Linked DNA regions of Homo sapiens: region 1 is linked to region 2. Evidence: promoter capture Hi-C in 16 types of primary human blood cells and fetal thymus (Javierre and others, 2016). All regions are on one chromosome and are shown on one strand. The core of a region is centred on a gene start or on the middle of the fragment in contact, and the rest is flanking DNA. Distances in the headings are between cores, read along the strand shown. Region 1 overlaps TMTC2 (transmembrane O-mannosyltransferase targeting cadherins 2). Region 2 holds the start of TMTC2 (transmembrane O-mannosyltransferase targeting cadherins 2).

The links. Contacts are between HindIII fragments. The CHiCAGO score rates a contact against its expected background, and 5 or more counts as called.
Region 1: a fragment that was not itself captured here is called in contact with the fragment with the promoter of TMTC2 in region 2 in 1 of 17 cell types (monocytes); the score reaches 6.8 in monocytes.

Annotation. Positions count from the first base shown.
Region 1 is chr12:82,976,468-82,979,487 of GRCh38, reverse strand. All of the region lies in intron 7 of TMTC2 (transmembrane O-mannosyltransferase targeting cadherins 2), which reads right to left. Among named protein-coding and RNA genes, the nearest start is that of TMTC2, 290 kb to the right of the region's middle. The HindIII fragment of the contact is 2,395 bases long and covers 121-2,515 here.
Region 2 is chr12:82,685,529-82,688,763 of GRCh38, reverse strand. TMTC2 (transmembrane O-mannosyltransferase targeting cadherins 2) reads right to left here and starts at 1,858. Exons shown (of 12, transcript NM_152588.3): 1 at 1,095-1,858. The coding sequence starts at 1,177. RefSeq lists silencers at 838-897, 1,258-1,307, 1,878-1,977, 2,828-2,907 and enhancers at 2,018-2,227, 2,248-2,397. The HindIII fragment of the contact is 3,615 bases long and covers 1,035-3,235 here.

The DNA of each region.
Region 1 (3,020 bases), core at 69-2,568, 290 kb before region 2:
GGGTGAAATTTAAAGTGTAGAGTTATTCATTTTCTATTTTCTTGTTTATTAATCTTTTTCTCTCAGTGATAAGTTGTCATCAGTTTAAAATAATGGGTTATGAAATATTATTTGCAAGCTTCATTATAACCTTAAACTAAAATCATATAAAAGATGTACAAAAAATAAAAAGCAAGAAATTAAAACATACAACCAGAGAAAATCACCTTCACTAAAAGACAGGAAGGAAGTAAAGAAAGAAGACCACAAAATGACCAGCAAACAACAAAATGTCAAGAGTAAGTCATTATTTATAAATTATAATATTGAATATAAATGGACTAAATTCTCCAATAAAAACATTGAGTGGCTAAATAAAAAGAAAAAAAAGACCTAACAATCTGTTGCATACAAGAAACACACTTTACCTATAAAGACACACATAGACTGAAAATAAAGGGATGGAAAAAGATATTCCACACAAATGGAAAGCAAAAAAAAGCAGAAGTAGCTATACTTACACCAGACAAAACAGATTTCAAGACAGAAACTATAAAAAGAGACAAGGAGGGTCATTATATAACCACACATGTGTCAATTCAGCAAGAGGATATAACAATTGTAAATATATACGCACCCAACTCTGGAGAACCCAGATATATAAACCAAGTATTATTAGGGCTAGAGAGATAGACCCCAATACAATAATAGCTGAAGGCTTCAAACCTAATTTTCTGCATCGGGCAGATCATCCAAATAGAAAGTCAACAAAGAAAGACGACTTAATTGGCACTATAGAGCAAATGGATCTAATAGATATTTACAGAACATTTCTTGCAATGGCTGCAGAATACACATTTTTCACCGCAGCACATGGATCATTTTCAAGAATAGACCACATATTATGCCACAAAGCAGTCTTAGAAAAACTAAAAAAACCTTAAATTATATCAAGTATATTCTCTGATCACAATGGAATAAAACTAGAAATCAATAACGAGAGAAATTTTGAAAACTACACACACACACACGGAAATTAAACATATATACCAAAATAGTATTTTAGATGGATTGGTTTTGAATTCTTATTTTGCCATTAATAGCTGTATGTTTTAGAAAAATGAGTGATTTTAAAGGTCCTCAGTTTTATCATTTACAACATGAAGGGCTAAGAATAAATAACTCCATAATCTCCAAAATGGATAATCATTTGTAGGTTCACCAGTGCTCAGATATTTATATACATTCATTTCATAAAGAGGTAAAAATATCCTAGTTTAAAATATCCTGCCTCATTCTTAATTTTTAGTTGATCTATTCAAGATTGGCTGCATCTAGATCAAGTCTTGGTTATTCCATTTAATAGTTATAACTCTGTTTTCTAATTATAAACATTATACCTGTTCATTGAAGAAAGTCTGAAAGATCATAATTTTATAAGACTGAAAGAATTATATCACCCATAGATAGCCACTGGCAAATTTTTATGTTTTCTCCAAGAATTTGAATTACATATTGAAAAAAATCAATTATATAGTAAAATATTTTGCTAGTTTTAAGCATCTAGGTTCCTTCCAGTGTTTTGTTATTTTAAATAAAACTATGCCAATTTTCCCAAAATTCAGTTTTCTCATTCGAAATCAGTATTCAGTTTGTTGTCTATTCAAATTCCCCTCCCAACATTTTATGTAAGTACTGCACTTCTGCAATTATCATTGTATTTTTTAATTATCTTTTTAAAACACAACTCTTATTATAACCTCAAAATAAATGTATAGAAGGAGAATTCTTGGACTATCTTTTATACAAAATATTATTAAAGTATCTTTTATACACAAAACATTTTCTATATCATGGAGATATGTATCATTTTCTAATTATATAGTTTCATTATTAAAATGAACTATGTATTCCACATGAAATATACTTTGCTATGTGGTATGAGACAAGTATCTGATGTTATTCTTTCCCAAAGATTTACTCAATTGTCTAGATCAACTATTATACAAATTTCCTTCCCTGACCAATATTTAATTTTACATTTATTATCTACAACAACCTTAAATAATTTGTTATTATTTCCAGGGTCTCCACTTTGTCCTATTGGTCTGGTTTTCTTTTCTCATGGGTACAATATCACTCTAATCACTTCATCTAATATTTGAGTATCTAGTAGAACAAACAAGTCTTAAACTTTATTATTCATTAAGACTTTCTTGGCTATATTTCACTGTTTTAGAATCATTTTGTCAAGTTTTTGATAAAATTCTTTTCAGAATGTTTATTGCTATTAAATTAAAATCTATAAATAAATTTGAGAAAAAGAGAATTTTTACAAAATTGAGTTTCCCCATTCGAGAATAGTATTCAATTCTTGATTTATTCAAACTCCCTCTCCCACTTTTTATGTACTTACGGAACCTAGCTAGGTAAGCAATTATAATCTTTCTGCTACAAAACCAGACTATGAGATGCATGGAAGCAGACACACAATCTTTTATATATTTTTCTGTCTTCAACCTAAGTCCAGAAAGCTTTGGCTCCAGAGAGTACTCGATAAATAGCTGACAAATACCTGATCACATTATGTATCTACTTGAATTTAGATGTTACATTTTTTTACGAAGTATGCCCTTGAAGAGAAATTTCCAGATAATTCTTTTTTTCTAGAACCTGCAGTCCGATGATCATTTTTTACTTCACAGTGTTGAGAAGCATTAGAAACACTACTAGAAACATTAGCGAGTCTCCCTTTTAAAAATACATTTATGCTACAAACCTGGTGTAACTTTTAGCAGTCAAATTTTGTGAATCTTTTGTATCTCCATCCCAATATTTTTGTCATCTTATTCTTATAAAAATAACACCCTCTAGTTGCCCCAGATATATTGCTTCTGATTGGAAATCCTTTAGCGGCTACAGTACAGTAGTATTGAAAGTAAAATGTAATATTATCCAAGTCTTAATTTGAGAAAAGTTAGGAAAAGATTCAATATACAACTCTTCAAGTCCTATAGCATTAAACTTAAGGGGAAACTCTT
Region 2 (3,235 bases), core at 609-3,108:
ACTTTTCATAGCTCAGAGAGGCTGCTGAAAAGCTGTCAAAGTAAATCTGTGCTCACTTTTTGGATGGTTTAATTTCAATGGAGCATGAAACACCCCAGGACGGTTAATAAGTTTAGCCAGGCGTGCTGTTATCCCTAATATATTTTAATTATGCATCTGTTTTAATTGTAATCAGATTAAGACACCGGAAGGACACAAATTGGAATTTTCCCTAATGGATATAGGGGCTTTTCATCACTTTCTGAACACTAATAACGTTTAAAAGATAGGAAGAGACACCAACACAACGGTGACATTTTCCAGAAATCGATGCAGTTTCTTTGACAACACAGTTCAGGTCTCATTAGCCACCCAAACTAACCTAAGTGCAGAAGACAACTTCAGTCTCTAGGGGCGTCTTCTTCTCCAATTAGTACAAAAGAACCACTAACATCTAATGTACAACTCCCAAACAGAAATGAGAAAGCCGAGGCTTTTATAAAGTGCTGCCCAATGGATTGGTGAAGGAGGCTAGGGCGGCGGGAGAGACCATCAGCAGCATTATTTTGGCTCAAAGTAAAAGTCTATACACGTTAAAAGGGAAAGTTAAAGCAGAGAACGATCTCCCTTTTCACAATTTTGGCAACTATCAAACGTGTGTTTTAACTTCGGGAAATAAAAGTGTCCCATCAATAAAAGGAAACGGGACAGGGAGGATCTATCAGGGATCGAGGAGAGGCTTCCTCCCAACCAGACGTAAAATCACTTAATGTGCTTTGTTGCATCAAGGAATACCTAAGACTTTAATTTAATACGTTCATTAAACAGTTTCCCAAATTGCCGGGATTTCCGCTAAGAAACTCAAGCGTCTGCCAACAGCCGAGAAGCAAGGGAGAGAACCTGCTGCAAACTAGGAGCGGAAACTCCCTCGGCCCGCCCAGCGCGCCTCACGTCCCCGGTGTTTGATTTAGGTGTTAATGTTTACGTGTCGCCTAAACCATCAGGTGCTGAACCAGTTCCTCCAAGACGCACTTTGAGCCTTAAAGAGGGAAGCTTCAGAGCCACTGCGGAGTGTGCCCCCTGCAGCCCGTCGCCCCCTCCTCTCGGCCCCTTACCTGTCATCATAGCAGAAATCCGCACTCAGGGTGTTGAGATACAAGGCGAGCCCCAGAGCGCTGCTCACCAACTCTGCAATCATCTCTCCACCGCCTTCCCTCCGGCTCGGCTCCCAGCGCGAGGGCAGCAGCGGCAACAAAAAACAGAAGCATCAATCTCCACCTTCCGCCGCCTTCTCCTCCCAGCTTCACTTTTCCCTCGCTTCCCCACCCTCCCTCCCTCGGGTCCTTCCAATCCACGACTCCTCTCCTCCTCCTCGCGCCCGTCTCCGCAGCTCCTGCGTCCTCCCCGGGTGCGGGCTCACACCACACTCCCCATGCCCGGCGCCCGCAAGCGGTGAGCGGCGTTTGGGCTCCGCGTCCCCCGGCGGAAGCGCAGGGCTGGTCTTTCGCGCGGGTCGCGATCCCCACCCTAACCCATGGCAGTTTGGGGCGTCCTAGGTGAGGAGTGGGACTCGGAGGAGGTGGAAGGGTGCGGGATGGGGGCAGAGGGACCGGACCAAGCCGGGCTCTGGGACCAGCTGGAGGAAGAGAGAGAAAGAGGCGCGGGTGGGAGGGACAAGGCGAACCGCCTCCCCTCGCCGCCTCCCGGGCGCACTGCTCCGGTGTCGCTCGGGCGGACTCCGGCCGCCAAGGCAGCTGCTGCACATTCAATGTTTATTAGCTCCCTCCCAGCCCCAGCCCCAGCCCCAGCCCCAGCTCCCTTCTCCAGTGAAGTGAGAAGCGGTGGCTGGAGACTCCAGAAGCTCCCGCGTGGGGTTCTCGACGCGGCCCCCCGCGCCTGCGTGACCAACCCTCCATCCCGGCTTGGCCCAGCCCCTTTCTCCACCCAGATCCTCCCGGAAGGCTCCTCCTACCCTGCCCCTCGGGCTGGAGGCTCCTCCCACCCTCCCCGGCCTGGAGGCTCCTCCTACCAGCCTCCCGTCCTCTTGTTTCTTTCACCTTCGATTTCACTCTGGAAAGCCCCCGGGACCCAAGGGCGACGGCTGGAAGACAGCCCAAAGGAGTAGATACAGTGCACCCTGGGAGGGGAAGCTGGGAGAAAGGAGGTCGAGGAGGAGGTGGTCGGTCGCCCCGCTGCTGCCTGGCAGCGCCTGGCACGGCTGAATCTCAGCCACAGCGCTGTGTGTGCCAAGAGCTGCCAGGCGTAAGTCCGGTCAGCTGGAGAGACTTCTGAGACCGGGAGAGGAAGAACAGGTTTGGCGACTGCTGCAGCTTCGGTTGTCACAAACTCACTGGCGATCTCTCACGCACACTGTGTGTGAGACTAAATGGGGGGGAGGAGGTAGTATTGGAGAGCTTGGAGGCAACTTAGGAAGGAGAGATTTCAGCTCTTAGCCTACGGTTGGCCACAATGTCAGTGGAAAGACGTGTAGGGAGAGAAACGTTTCCTCCTTCAGTAAGGTTAAAAAGAAAGGACCCCAAAAAGGGAAAGAAAGACACACACACACCCCGCAGCAACTGCCCGGGGACCCCTTCGTGGTTTCAGAGGGACTGTCGGGTTGACCCTGAGAACACAGGAGAGAAACCTCTAGTGCAAGCCGGTACAGCATTATACTTAAACCTAGTAAGGCAGTAAGCTAATGCCCTTTCCTTTCCGCTCGGAGGCAGGACTGGATGGAAAGCATCCAACATGGTGAAATATGGTGTAGAATGGTCTGTGTAGAACAAGCTCTGGGTACTAAAGTTGCAAGACCAAAGAGGACCCAGGGCTGCCTGACACGCCTCCTCCCGGCTTGTTGGCTTTCTGGCCAGGAGAGTAGCTCCGGTGCACCGCGATGTACACTACTGCAGCGCCCCCTGCTGCATAGTAACCACAAGGTGTGGAAGACAGGTCTGTTTTGCATGCGGGCCGACTGGTTCCAACCAAGAGCAGCACCTAACCAGCAAGCTCTCCGAAACTGTGGCAAGAAATTGAGCCCCCTGGGTGTCTAGCAGTGGCCTGGAAAGAAAATACCGTGGTCTGGGCTTCTGTAGAACAAAGCTACATATTTCCCTGATTTCACAAGGAAATCTGAGAAATCTGTATTGGATACACACAGATAAAATGATGAATATTTATTAATATTATACCTGTTATGCCATCCACAGTAGCACATTTTTTGTGCCCTGGACAAATATATGTAAACAAAAATAAAAGG